Regions from separate parts of the Homo sapiens genome. Here regions 2 and 3 are each linked to region 1. Evidence: promoter capture Hi-C in human tissues and cell types (Jung and others, 2019). All regions are on one chromosome and are shown on one strand. The core of a region is centred on a gene start or on the middle of the fragment in contact, and the rest is flanking DNA. Distances in the headings are between cores, read along the strand shown.

Evidence for each region. The method cuts DNA at HindIII sites, captures the fragments that hold promoters and counts their contacts. A contact is called where the count stands out against the background at its distance.
Region 2: a contact is called between a fragment that was not itself captured here and the fragment with the promoter of PAQR5 in region 1, in 6 of the 25 tissues and cell types used here (heart left ventricle, hippocampus, mesendoderm cells and 3 more).
Region 3: a fragment that was not itself captured here is called in contact with the fragment with the promoter of PAQR5 in region 1 in 1 of the 25 tissues and cell types used here (bladder).

The regions. Positions count from the first base shown.
Region 1 is chr15:69,296,129-69,300,161 of GRCh38, forward strand. PAQR5 (progestin and adipoQ receptor family member 5) reads left to right here and starts at 2,784. Exons shown (of 9, transcript NM_017705.4): 1 at 2,784-2,928. PAQR5-DT (PAQR5 divergent transcript) reads right to left here and starts at 2,635. Exons shown (of 3, transcript NR_184010.1): 1 at 2,350-2,635. The HindIII fragment of the contact is 6,076 bases long and covers 1-4,033 here.
Region 2 is chr15:69,069,266-69,073,298 of GRCh38, forward strand. It overlaps LOC124903515 (a long non-coding RNA gene), which reads right to left. Exons shown (of 2, transcript XR_007064692.1): 1 at 2,048-4,033; 2 at 1-976. Among named protein-coding and RNA genes, the nearest start is that of EWSAT1, 9.6 kb to the right of the region's middle. The HindIII fragment of the contact is 5,134 bases long and covers 1-4,033 here.
Region 3 is chr15:69,463,858-69,467,890 of GRCh38, forward strand. No RefSeq gene overlaps it. Among named protein-coding and RNA genes, the nearest start is that of LINC02896, 3.1 kb to the left of the region's middle. The HindIII fragment of the contact is 4,515 bases long and covers 1-4,033 here.

The DNA of each region.
Region 1 (4,033 bases), core at 1,534-4,033:
TTTGAGTCACATGGATTGGGGTAGGACTGTTTCCCCCCAAAAAGGCTTTTTGAGTTATGTTGTAAAGATGTCAGAGGGAGACTCACATTTAAGACTGAAGCTCTCCTTCCTTCACACCCTTGCCAGGACTCCCTCTGACCACCCCAATCCCTGCCCCCCTCCGTTTGTGGTCCCTCTGCCCATTGCCATGAGGAGAGTGTCCAATCCAATATCAGTCAGTTCCACAAATGTTTACTGAGCCCTTTGGAAAATAAAACACAACTCCAAATATTAAATTTACTTAGCACTCTGCAGTTTACAGAGCACTTCCAAATGCATTCTGTGGTCACTACAATAACCCTGAAAGGAAAAAAAGATGATTATCTCTCACTCCACAAAAAAGAAACTGAGGGTCAGAGAAGAGAGACAACTTGCTCAAGGCCATTTGATTGGAGGTTGCCTGACTCCTGGAGCTGCTCTTCCCCGTCTCCTTGCTGCCTTGCTGTCATGTCACCTGCTGTCTCACTGGGTCATTTGGGCGTGTGCCCCTCGCACGCCTGTATCTTCCCAACTGGTGTCAGCTCGAAACCCTCTGTGGTCTGCAGTGCTCAGCCTGGCTTTCCAGGTCTGGGCAGCTCCCTCCTTCCAGATCCTGCCTGTGATTCCAGCTCCTTTCCCTTGCTGTACAAAGTTCCCACCTCTGCACTTTGCCTCACTCTTTCTTCCTGCCCACTGGTACGTATCCCAGTCCTTCCCACACTTCAGGTCTCCCTCGGCTGCACAGGAGGCTCAAATCCAGCATAGATTCCTGAAGTCCTGGGTCCAAGTTCTAGCTCTGCTACTGACTTCTTGTGACTGTGTGACCTTGGGCAGGTCACTTTCCCTCTCTGGGCCTCCATTTCATCACTATGAAATAGGAGTGTTGAACACAATACTCTAAATGCATCTCCATGTGGTCTAAGTACCCCCCTCCCCGGCCCCTCCCTGCCCTTCCCCCTCCTCTGATCATCCTGTGTGCTCACCATCCACAATCCCCTCTCCTGGCTCCACATCATTCTCCAAAGGGTTCATGTTCAATCATTCAGTTAGACTTTAAACTCCCTAAGAGCAGAGGAGGGTGATTTTGGCCAAGATATGCAGATCGATTCATCAGTAATCCACTGACCACCTCCATTTAGGTTGGGAGCCTCTTTATCTTCCCTCTTTAGTTTCTTCAAGGTGCACACACAGATACCTACAGCAGGCAGGAATCCAGGTGGGGCACCAGGCATCTCTGCTCACCTTGGCTGCTGGTGGTGGGGTGCCTGCCTGTGCTGTGCATGCTGCAGCTTTGGCAGGGTGGCCAATCAGTCCAGTGCCAGCCTTTGCCTCCCAGAGAATGCTTCACACCCTATTCTTCCCCCAAACCCATCACTGGCCCAGACATCAAAAGCACACATCCCTGTGCTATTCCCCTTCAAAGAGCTTCATATCTAATATCTCACTGAGTCCCCCGACTAGCCTTGGAAAGGCAAAGCAGGGATTATTAATCTCCATTTTGTAGATGGTGAGGGTCTTGTCCAAGGCTACTCTGAATTCAGCATAGAGCTGGGACTGGGCTCCACTCTTGTGTCCAGTCATTCTTGTCAAACTCTGGTCTGTGGAATATACATGCCTGCCTCTGTGTAGGCCCCAGTCTCTTTCCCTTTAAGAACTTGGGTCTGAGAGGACAAGCGCATGTCGCACGCACACACACACGCACATGCATACACACCCTTACAAGATGCACAGCCACCAAAAAGCCTAATAAAGCAAGGTGCCCAAGACCACGGTTCAGGATCCGTAAAAATGGCCGGAGATAATTGACTGCAACCTATTCACTGCAAATGGGGCAACTTGGGCCCACAAAGGGCCAGAGACTTGACCCGAGTCACAGAGTAGACTAGAGCCCAGGTCTCTGGACTCCCAGTCCTGTGCTCTCTCCACTGTGTGTGCCCTCAGCAAACAAGGCAAGGCAGGGAGGAGCAGGAGCTCAGAGAGCCTGGGGCTGAAGGGTGGGAGGAAAGAGCCTGGTGGGGGACTTCGGTCCACAGGTGTGGATGTTCCAACCTTTCTCTGGCAGGGTCGGGGTGGGGGCACCAGGTAGCTGCAACCTGTTCCTTCAGCACCTGGGAGGAGACACAGAGTCTGGTTCCCTGAAGCCAAATGTTTCTTCTTTGTCCTCTGTGTCCCTTCATCTCTTATAGCTGTGTCCACTGAGTGGCAGAGGTCCAGGCCCAGCGCCTTCCAGTCTAGGAGCCTGTGACCTGGGACAGGATCCCTGGGGAAAGGGTGAGGGCTGGCAAAGGGCCCGCCACCCTGAGCACTCCAAGAGACAGGGGTGGAACTCACTTCAAGGATTCAGGGCGGCGAGGATCCTCTCCCACCGGCGAAGCGGACACCGCGGTGGGGCTGCGAGTACCCAGTTGTTGTTTTTTTCTCCTTCCCTGTTCTCCACCCCATGCACTTTTCCGAGGGGCAAGCTCCGCAGTTCTCCCATCAAGGAGGCTCTCCAGGCTCCCTGCCGGCCTTCGGCTCCTGGGGTGGAGGTGGGCGTGGGGTACATGGGCCCTAGGAGAATGGGGTGTGAGAGACTCCCCTGGGCTTATGGCTTTGGTGGCACCTCAGGCTGTGGAATGGGGTGGCGAGTCTTTGGAAGTCACAGAGCCCAGGGTCGGTGGCACGTGATGAGGCGCAGGCCTGGCTCAGGGGGTGGTGCCCACGGCCCTCGGCTCCTCCCCCGGGGCCGCCCCGCCCCGCGCGGGAGGGGACGGGCGGGGACCGGCATGGGTAGGCGCGGCGACCCGCAGGGCCAGGTGCAGGGCCCGCGAGTCCGGGGTCGCCGCAGCCCGGGAGGAGTGTCTGGTCTCCGGCCTGCCTGTGCTGTCCCCGCGCCCTGTCCACTGGACTCCCGAGACCCTTGGAACCCAGGTAACCCGGGGCGGGACTCCCCGCCGCGCGCCGCCTCCCCACCTCCCGGTCCACGCGCACCCGCCCTCCGCGGCAGCCCCAGCCGCCCTGCGCCCGTGGAGCCCGTTGAGCCTGGGTGGCCGCTCCGAGGGCGGGTCTGGGAAAGTTTGTGCCGGGGCGGCCCTGATCCGGCGGCGGCGCGGCTCGGCCACTTTCACCGCACGCGGGGCCGGTGTGAAGGTGGGGCGGCCGCCGCCGTGCAGAAGGCTCTCTGCTGCAATCGAGGGCGGTGAGGGGAGCTGTTGCCTTCTCGCACCTTTTCTCTCACTCTCCAGGGCGTTTGCGCCGCTTATCCTTCCTCCACCGCCCCCCTCCCGCCGCCCCCACTTTAATAAAACCCTTGGATTGGGGCTGCACAGTTGGCGATTTCTTTACACCTGTGCTTCCCGCCTCCTGAGCCCAGATGTGAGCCTGGGCTGAGCAGGACCGTGTGGGTGAGGGGCGGCCCACTGCCTGCGGGGGTCGTCCCGGCCCTGTTGAAGTGGGTGCCCAGCTACAGGGAGTTCCCCCTGCTCTGTCATTGGCCTCCCCCCGGCCACAGCCCCCAGCTGGGCATCTCCTGGCTCCCCTAGCACTTCCCAAGTCCTAGTCGGATGAGCCCAGGAGAGGGGGTGGACCCCGGCCCAGCAGAACAAGAACTCAGGAGCCCGGTAACTCTTATCCGTGAGCAGAACCGGCTTCCTCCCGCTTAGGTTGGGAGGAGGGCTCAGCTTAGTGGGAGTCGGGGGTGACAACTGCCCCTTCCCACGCAGAGCCATAGAGAAGAGATGGGGAGAGGTCAGGGGATCTGAGAAGAGCTAGCAGCCAAAAAGGGACACATCCCTGATTTCATTTGAACCTAACAAACCAATGGCGAGTAGATATTAACACATGGGCAGATGAGAAGACAAGGAGGCCCAACAAAGCTCAGCCATTTGCTGGAGAAACTGGTGGGCTTTTCTCCACCACTGAGTGGCGGGTTTCCCACCGCATCCTTCCAGAGCTGCATGGTCGCTTCTGCATTCTTGCAGTGCCCTTGACTCAGCAGAGGTTTGTTTCTTTTACCCCACTCCCCACCCCCCTAGGT
Region 2 (4,033 bases), core at 846-3,345, 230 kb before region 1:
CAGAAAGAATTATTAGAATATGAATTAGTGTGGTGGCTCATACCTATAATCCCAGAACTTTGGGAGGCCAAGGTGGGAGGATCACTTGAGCCCAGGAGTTTGAGACCAGCCTGGGAAACATACCAAGACCCCATCTCTACAAAAAAAAATTTTTTAAAGAATAGGAATTATGCCTATCAATGATAGACTGGATAAAGAAAATGTGGCAGATATGCACCATGGAATACTATGCAGCCATTAAAAAGGATGAGTTCATGTCCTTTGCAGGGACATGGATGAAGCTGGAAACCATCTTTCTCAGCAAATTAACACAAGAACAGAAAACCAAACACCACATGTTCTCACTCATAAGTGGGAGCTGAACAATGAGAACACATGGACACAGGGAAGGGAACATCACACACTGGGGCCTGTCTTGGGGTTGGGGGGCTAGGGGAGGGATAGCATCAGTTGAAATATCTAGTGTAGATGATGGGTTGATGGGTGCAGCAAACCACCATGGCACTTGTATACCTATGTAACAAACCTGCACATTCTGCACATGTACCCCAGAACTTAAAGTTTAATTTTTTTTAAAAAAGTGCAACAAAAAAATAAGAGTTAGTGTTTTTGGTCTAAAGAAACTGAGATCCTGAAAGGTGAAATAGTCCAGGGTCCCTCAGCCAGGATCCTGATTCCCCTTTAGAAGAGAACAGATGCAAAAAAAAGCACAGGGCCTGATTCGTAGTAGATGTTCAGTAAACACAAGCCCCCATCTCTTCTCCAAATGAGATTTCTTCTACAGCTCACTGTCATTGGTCCAAAGAATGCAGCCGCTACACTGTGTTATTGGCAGGATTGTGGGCATGACTGATTTCCTTTCTGATTGGGTAGGAAGGCTGAAGGGCGAGTTTGGAAGGGCTCTGTTCCCTTCATCTCACTCCTTTCCCCACTCGCATTTCACCCAACAGTCGTCTGATTTTTGAGCAATCTGTTCCTGGAAAGCAGAGGAAAGTAACAGATTGATGCATCGACTGCGTGTGGCCAAGTGATTTATTTTTAATGTGACTAAACAAGACACACACCTGCCTATGGAAACGTAATCACATTGAATCATCAGGGACTTAGATAGCCATTTAAGCAAGGGAAAGACAGAGAGGAGACAGAGGAGAGGAGGAAGAGGAGGGAGAGAAAGAAAAGGGAGGCAGGGGAGCAGAGACAGAAGAGGAGAGATAAGAAGGGACTGGAAGAGAGGGAAGGGAAGGGAAGGGAAGAGAAGACTGGGCCAGCTCCCTAAAAATGTTTATTTCAGCAGCATCAGTGAAGCACCCTCAATTGGCCCAAATGCCTGTGGTTTAGCTTTGCTGATGCCTGAAATTTCATAATTAGACTTTCGTCCCTGTGATTTAACCAAACACAGTATGTTCTCCACTAAAGTGTAAATGCAACAGAAGTAGTGCATCAAACTACATCAATCATTTTCACCTCAGTGAGAAAGAACTGATATCTTTTATGAAAGCAGGAGTTTTTCTATGGGGGGGTTGTATTAGTCCATTTTGCATTGCTATAAAGGAATACCTGAGACTGGGTAGTTTATAAAGAAAAGAGGTTTATTTGGCTCATGGTTCTGCAGGCTGGATAGCATGACACTGGCATCTGCTCGGCTTCTGGTGAGGCCTCAGGAAGCTTTTACTCATGGCAGAAGGCAAAGGGGGAGTAGGCAGGTCACATGGCAGGAGAGGGAGCAAGAGAGGGAGGAAGAGGTGCCAGGCTCTTTTATACAATCAGATCTCACTCTAACTAATAGAGCAAAAACTCACTCATTACCACAGGGAGGGCACCAAGCCATTTATGAGGGACCCACTCCCGTGACCTAACACTTCTCACCAGCCCCCGCCTCCAACACTGGGATCACACTTCAACATGAGATTTGGAGGGGAGAAATATCCACACTATATCGGGGGCATTAAAACAAAGTTTATGGGAGTCACCAGTGAAGGCACAGAAAGGAACCTTGGGGGCTCTAGGGACTTTCTCCTTCATGGCTTTTCTTAATGATAACACCTACCTTTACGAGCATTTGTTATGTTCCAGGCACTATGGATGCGAGCCATTACATGTACTATTTCATTCCATCTTCCCAATGGCCCTGGAATTTTGCGCTGGTGTTCTCATCACTCTCCAGGTGAGGGAACTGAAGCCCAGCCTGTCGTCATCTGTCTCAGCACTCTGAAAGGAAGATCCAGTTACAGCAGAGTTTCTCGTGGAATGCCCAGCCTCACCAATAGTATCTTGCTTGCAGAAGGCACTCAGTAAGTATGTGCCAACAGAGTGAAGTGGCAGGGATGGGACATGAATGTAGACAGTCTAACTCCAGAGCCTGTACCCTTAGCATTTGCCACAACTTTCTCCCAGATAGTCCACTCCGTTCTCCCTGCTTCTCACCCGAATAGCATACGAAATTCATGAACCACTGACTTTGGGAGGCTAAATGTCCTCCATCACAGCTCCCTTCTCAATCTCCCTGGGTCAGTACCAGGAATTAGCCAGCCAGACTGTTCCACTCTGTACTGCTAGTTTTCTATGTCCAGATACCTTTTCCCAGTTAGTCTGTAATGCCTTTGAGGGAAGGCACAGCATCCATGCAGAGTCTATGGGGGGATGTATGAGTCCTTTTGAAATTGCAGTTTCTTTCTCAAAAGCAAGATTATATCTTTGTGTTTTCTATTAATATGATTGTGGTAGGTTTTTTTCTTGAATTTTATATCAATATCCTTCACCCTGCCCCTAGCAATAGCACGTGAAGGAGATTATGAAGTCATAAGTTAGGGGGGCATCAGATTGATAGCTTTTTGAAGATTGATAATATCTAGTGTGGGCAAGGATGGAGGAAATGGATACTCATACATTGTTGGGGAGGCTTTCGAGGAGGCAAATCATCAGTAAGTAACAGTGGCTGAAACAAGATAAAAGCTTTATTTTATTTTTTTCTCATACAAAAGTCTAAGCTAGTAGAAAGTCCTGGAAAGAAGGCTGGCTCGGCTCCACAAGGTTATACAAGGACACAGGTTCTTTCTGTACATTGTACCACCATCCCCAGGGGTGTTACCTGCATCACCTGCTGGAAGCTGACTCCCACTACCACATCTGTTCTCTGAATAGATTTCTCCCTGGGGAAAGCAGAAGTACAACAAACAGCGTATTTTAAGGACCTGATTCAGAAATTGCACACAATGCTTCTCATCAGTCATAACTTAGTTACACGTCCCCATGTAGTAGCAAGGGGGGTGGAAAATATATTCTCAACTCATACCCACCTGAAACTCAGGAGATTCATTGCTAAAAGGAAGAAAAGAGAAAATGGATAGTAGGGGGACAGTGAACAGTTTCTAATACAAACAGGAGGAATTATCAAAGTTAAAAGTGCATATATTGCTAGACCCAGCAATTCCAGTTCTAGAAATGTATTCTAAGGAAATAGTCACACAACTACACAAAGATTATGTATAAGGGTAATACTAGTGGTTTTAAAATATGTTCACAAATTCTTTGATACCCTTCCCTTCACAAAAGGGCTACACTTAATGACTTACTCCTAATGAATAGAATGTGGCCAAAGTGACAATGTGTGACTTCGGAGGCTAGGTCATAAAAGGCCCTATGCTTCTACTTTGCTCTCTCGAATGACTGGCTATGATGGAAACAGCCACCATGTTGTGAGGACACTCAATTAGCCTTGTGGAGAGACCCACATGGGTGAGAAACTAAGGGCTGCCACCAACAGCCCACATCCACTTGCCAGCTCTGAGAGCAAATAGATCCTGCAGGCCTAGTCAAGCCTCATTTGACTGACGCCTCAGTCAACATCTTGACTGCAAGCCCATGCAAAACACTGAGCCAGAAACCACCCACCCAAGAAGCTGTGAATTCCTGACTGGCAAAAAATGTGAGTGATTATAAATATTTATTATACTTTTAAGCCACTACTTTTTGGAGTATTGTGTTAGGCAGCAGTAAATAACTAATACAATAATCATTGCTTCCTGTTTGTAAT
Region 3 (4,033 bases), core at 952-3,451, 170 kb after region 1:
CATGTCACCACGCCAGGCTACTTTTTTTTTTTTTTTTTTTGGTCTTTTCTAGAGATAGGGTTTCACCATGTTGCCCAGGGTGGTCTTGAACTCCTAGGCTCAAGTGATCCTCCATCCTTGGCCTCCCAAAGTGCTGGGATTACAGGCGAGAGCCTCCACACCCAGCCCCTTAATGTTTCATTCTACTATTTTATTAAAGACTGAAAACCACAGTTAATAATGTGGGGATTTTGAATTTTTTAAATTTACTTTTTTTTTGAGACAGGGTCTTGCTTTGTCACCCAGGCTGGAGTGCAGTGGTGTGATCAAGGCTCACTGCAGCCTCGACCTCCTTGGGGCTCAAGCAACCTTCCTGCCCCAGTCTCCAAGTAGCTGGATTACAGGTGGTGAGCCACTGTGCCATCACTACAAGTTCCAATTTTTTTTTTTAATTTTTAAATGTTTTCTTCAGCCTGTTTGAGTTTGAACTACTACAGTTTTGTTTTGTTTTTTTTTTTTTTTTTTTTTTTTTTTGAGATGGAGTCTTGCTCTGTCGCCTAGGCTGGAGTGGAGCGGTGCGATCTCAACTCACTGCAAGCTCCGCCTCCCGGGTTCACGCCATTCTCCTGCCTCAGCCTCCCGAGTAGCTGGGACTACAGGCGCCCGCCACCACGCCCTGCTAATTTTTTGTATTTTTAGGAGAAACAGGGTTTCACCATGTTAGCCAGGATGGTCTTGATCTCCTGACCTCGTGATCTGCCCGCCTCGGCTTCTCAAAGTGCTGGGATTATAGGCGTGAGCCACCGAGCCCGGCCAGAACTACTACAATTTTTTTAGGGTCATTTGGTCCTCTCTCTCAAAAGTGCGCTTACCCTCTATCCAGGAATTTCATTTGTAGGAACCTATGCTATGTACAATTTCACTGAAGTATTGCTTGTATTAGAAAAAAAGTATGGATGATAGGCAGGTTGAATAAATGTTAATGTTTTCATGTAGCTATGTATAGGAATGCCGCTATGGAAAGACATCCAGGACACCTTGTTAAGTGAAAAAAGGTAAGTTGCCACCAGTATGCATAACATGACCCTATTTGAGTAAAAAAATAAAAAAAATGTGCATATGTTTTATAGTATTAAAAAACTTCTGGGAGGATTCAAGAGTAATTATAGTGGTTACTTCTGAGGACAGGGATTGGATGGGGTGGAAGAAATATTTTTACTTTCCAGTTTATCCTTTTTATATTGCTTGAATTTTTAAAGACCATGAACATACATTACTTTTCTAAATTAAAAACACTGGTTTTGATTTTTTAAAAATTGGAGAGGGTTTCATGTGGAAGAGAGACTCAACTTCCAAGTAGTTCTAGAAGGAAGAACTCTGACCAGTTTTGAGACAGTTTTAGGTCAAAATAAGAAAAATAAGGAAAAGCTTTGCTAGGTGTTAGGCTGAGGCTGGGATATGGAAGACAGTGTTGCTCCAGGAGGAAGTGAACTAGATGCTTCCTCTAGCTATGAGATCATGTAAGTCTTCTGGGACACAGGGTTAAATGCTCTGATATCAGACTACCTGGGCTGGCTCAAATCCCATTGCCGCTAAATAGGGCTGTGTGACTTTGAGTGAGTTATTTAACCTCTCTGTGCCTCAGTTCCATCATATGCATAGTGGGGATCATGTTGACACCTACCTCATAGAGTTCTTTTAGAATTAAGTGAGATGGCACATATAAAACAGCATAGTTACTGTTCAAAAACTGTTGAGCTTTTCTTTGCTATCTCATATGAATTGGTGGCTAAAAAGTTAAAAAGTGGCAGGGCACGGTGACTCACTCCTTTGGGAGGCCGAGGAAGGTGGATCACTTGAGGCCAGCAGTTGGAGACCAGCCTGGCCAACATGGCAAAAACCCACCTCTACTAAAAATACAAAAATGAGCCGGGTGTGGTGGCGTGTGCCTGTAGTCCCAGCTACTCAGGAGGCTGAGGCATGAGAATTGTTTGAACCCTGGAGCTGGAGGTTGGAATGAACCAAGATTGCGCCATTGCACTCTATCCTGGATGACAGAGAGAGACTGTCTCAAAAAATAAAATAAATAAAATAAAAAGGAAATCAAAGAAACAGTTTCTACAATTAGAAAGGCTGTTTTATTTTTACACCCTTTATGGAGAAGGTCAAATATTGGATTTTCAGAATTAATGGAATTATTGGGTTGGTAGAATTTCATACATGCTGGATGGCTTTGCTGACAAAAGGAATTTTTGTTTTCCAGATGCTGGCTCAGTGTTGCCCCATAGTGGCCAATCCTGGGAAGGGCTACTGGGGTTGACCCCTTCACGCTAGAGTGCTTCTAGGCTAGGGTGTGAGTTCCACAGTCAGAGCTGCCTGGCTGCTTGGCCGAAGGATGAGTGAGTCAGTCCACACCTTAGTAAGGAAAGCATGTTTGTGTGCCCTCCCATGACCCAGCCAAGAGGAAACCAAGAGCACTTTAATATGGTCTTCCCTCCCTTGTAATTTACTTAGCACGCTTCACTTTGCCTCTGCAAATGCTCAAGTTCATTTCTTGTTTAAAAACAAAGAAAGATGTCACTGAATCACTGTGCAATCTGGTGCACCCTTGGTTTTCCTCAAAGGTTGTTGGAAGAAAAGGCCACATGAAAACCATTTCTGCTTTTGCCAGAAAACTTGAGCAGGCTCTTATATTGTTATGGTCTCCTAAATAAGGTCTCATGTGAAAAATTCTTGTAAAATTTAGGGGCAGGAGAAAGTTTGTGTCCTCTGGGGCATTAGTCTGCATCCTCCTGTATGATAACGAGAGCTCTGTGACTTCACACTCTCTCTTCTCTGCTTCAGCTGCTGAGAAATTCAGTACCAGACCAGGTGCCCAATCTCAGTAATTAAATTAACCCAAATGGATAAGGTGTTTACCTCCTCCTCCTTTTCTTGGTACTGATTTTTAAAATAAAAATTTTGGCAGCTTTTTTATTGACTTTACTGCATCGTTGTACTTTGATCTATACTCAAATTCTTTTGAGAAAGAGGAAAGGAATTCACAAATTAAATGAAAAATTGAATATTGGAAGGTTTTTTTCTGGTGGCACGTTAAATGAGATATTAAGTTAGTGGTTGTACTTGGGTTTTGAGACTAACAAGCTTATAGGTCCAAGATTTCAGGTCATAATTTTTCTTTACTTGGGAAAATGAGAACCTCATGCATATCAGGCCATCAAAGAAGTTGTGAGGTGTGGTGAAAAGACAGAAAGCAGTTCAGGCTTGTTTTTTGTTTGTTTGTTTGTTTGGAGATGGAGTCTCTCTGTCACCCAGGCTGGAGTGCAGTGGCATGATCTCGTCTCACTACAACCTCCGCCTCCTGAGTTCCAGCGATTCTCCTGCCTCAGCCTCCCGAGTAGCTGGGACTATAGGCGCGCACCACCACACCCGGCTGATTTTTGTAGTTTTAGTAGAGACGGGGTTTCACCACGAGGCTTGTTTTTTATCCACTGTCACCAAGGATAATATTGAATCAGTGTGAACATTCAGAGACCGAAAAAGCTAGAAGCCCTATTCGGACCCAAAATATTTTCCCTCTGCTGTCATTTCAGACATGCCACCATTAGGGCTTCATTTCCCTGCAGTCTTCTTTAAATACCAAAACTGCCCTGGGAAGGATAAGACATCAGTTTCTTCATACTTCAGAGCAAATGGGATTGATTCCCAGGACCTCCTTTCTGTGGACTGGGTTTTTGCCTCCTCACCAAGAGACTGGGCTCCCTGGGCGAGCAGAGGCTGCTGGGTAAGAGAGATTTAGTTCTGTTTCAACAAGCTGTGGGGCCTTCGACAAGCCCCCTGACCTCTCTGGCCCCTGGTGTCCTCACGTTGCCATGAAGGGCTTTTGAGGATGCTCCAGCTCCCACATGGCCAATCCCGACTCCCCTCCCAGGGCCCCTGTTGGGCCCTGCGGCAGGTGCCAGTGGAGTCACCTTCCAGCCCGGCGGGGCCCATTAGCTCCTTGCTCTGTTGACTCTCAGGTAAAACCTTTCTTGTGTTTACTCAGCAAAGATTC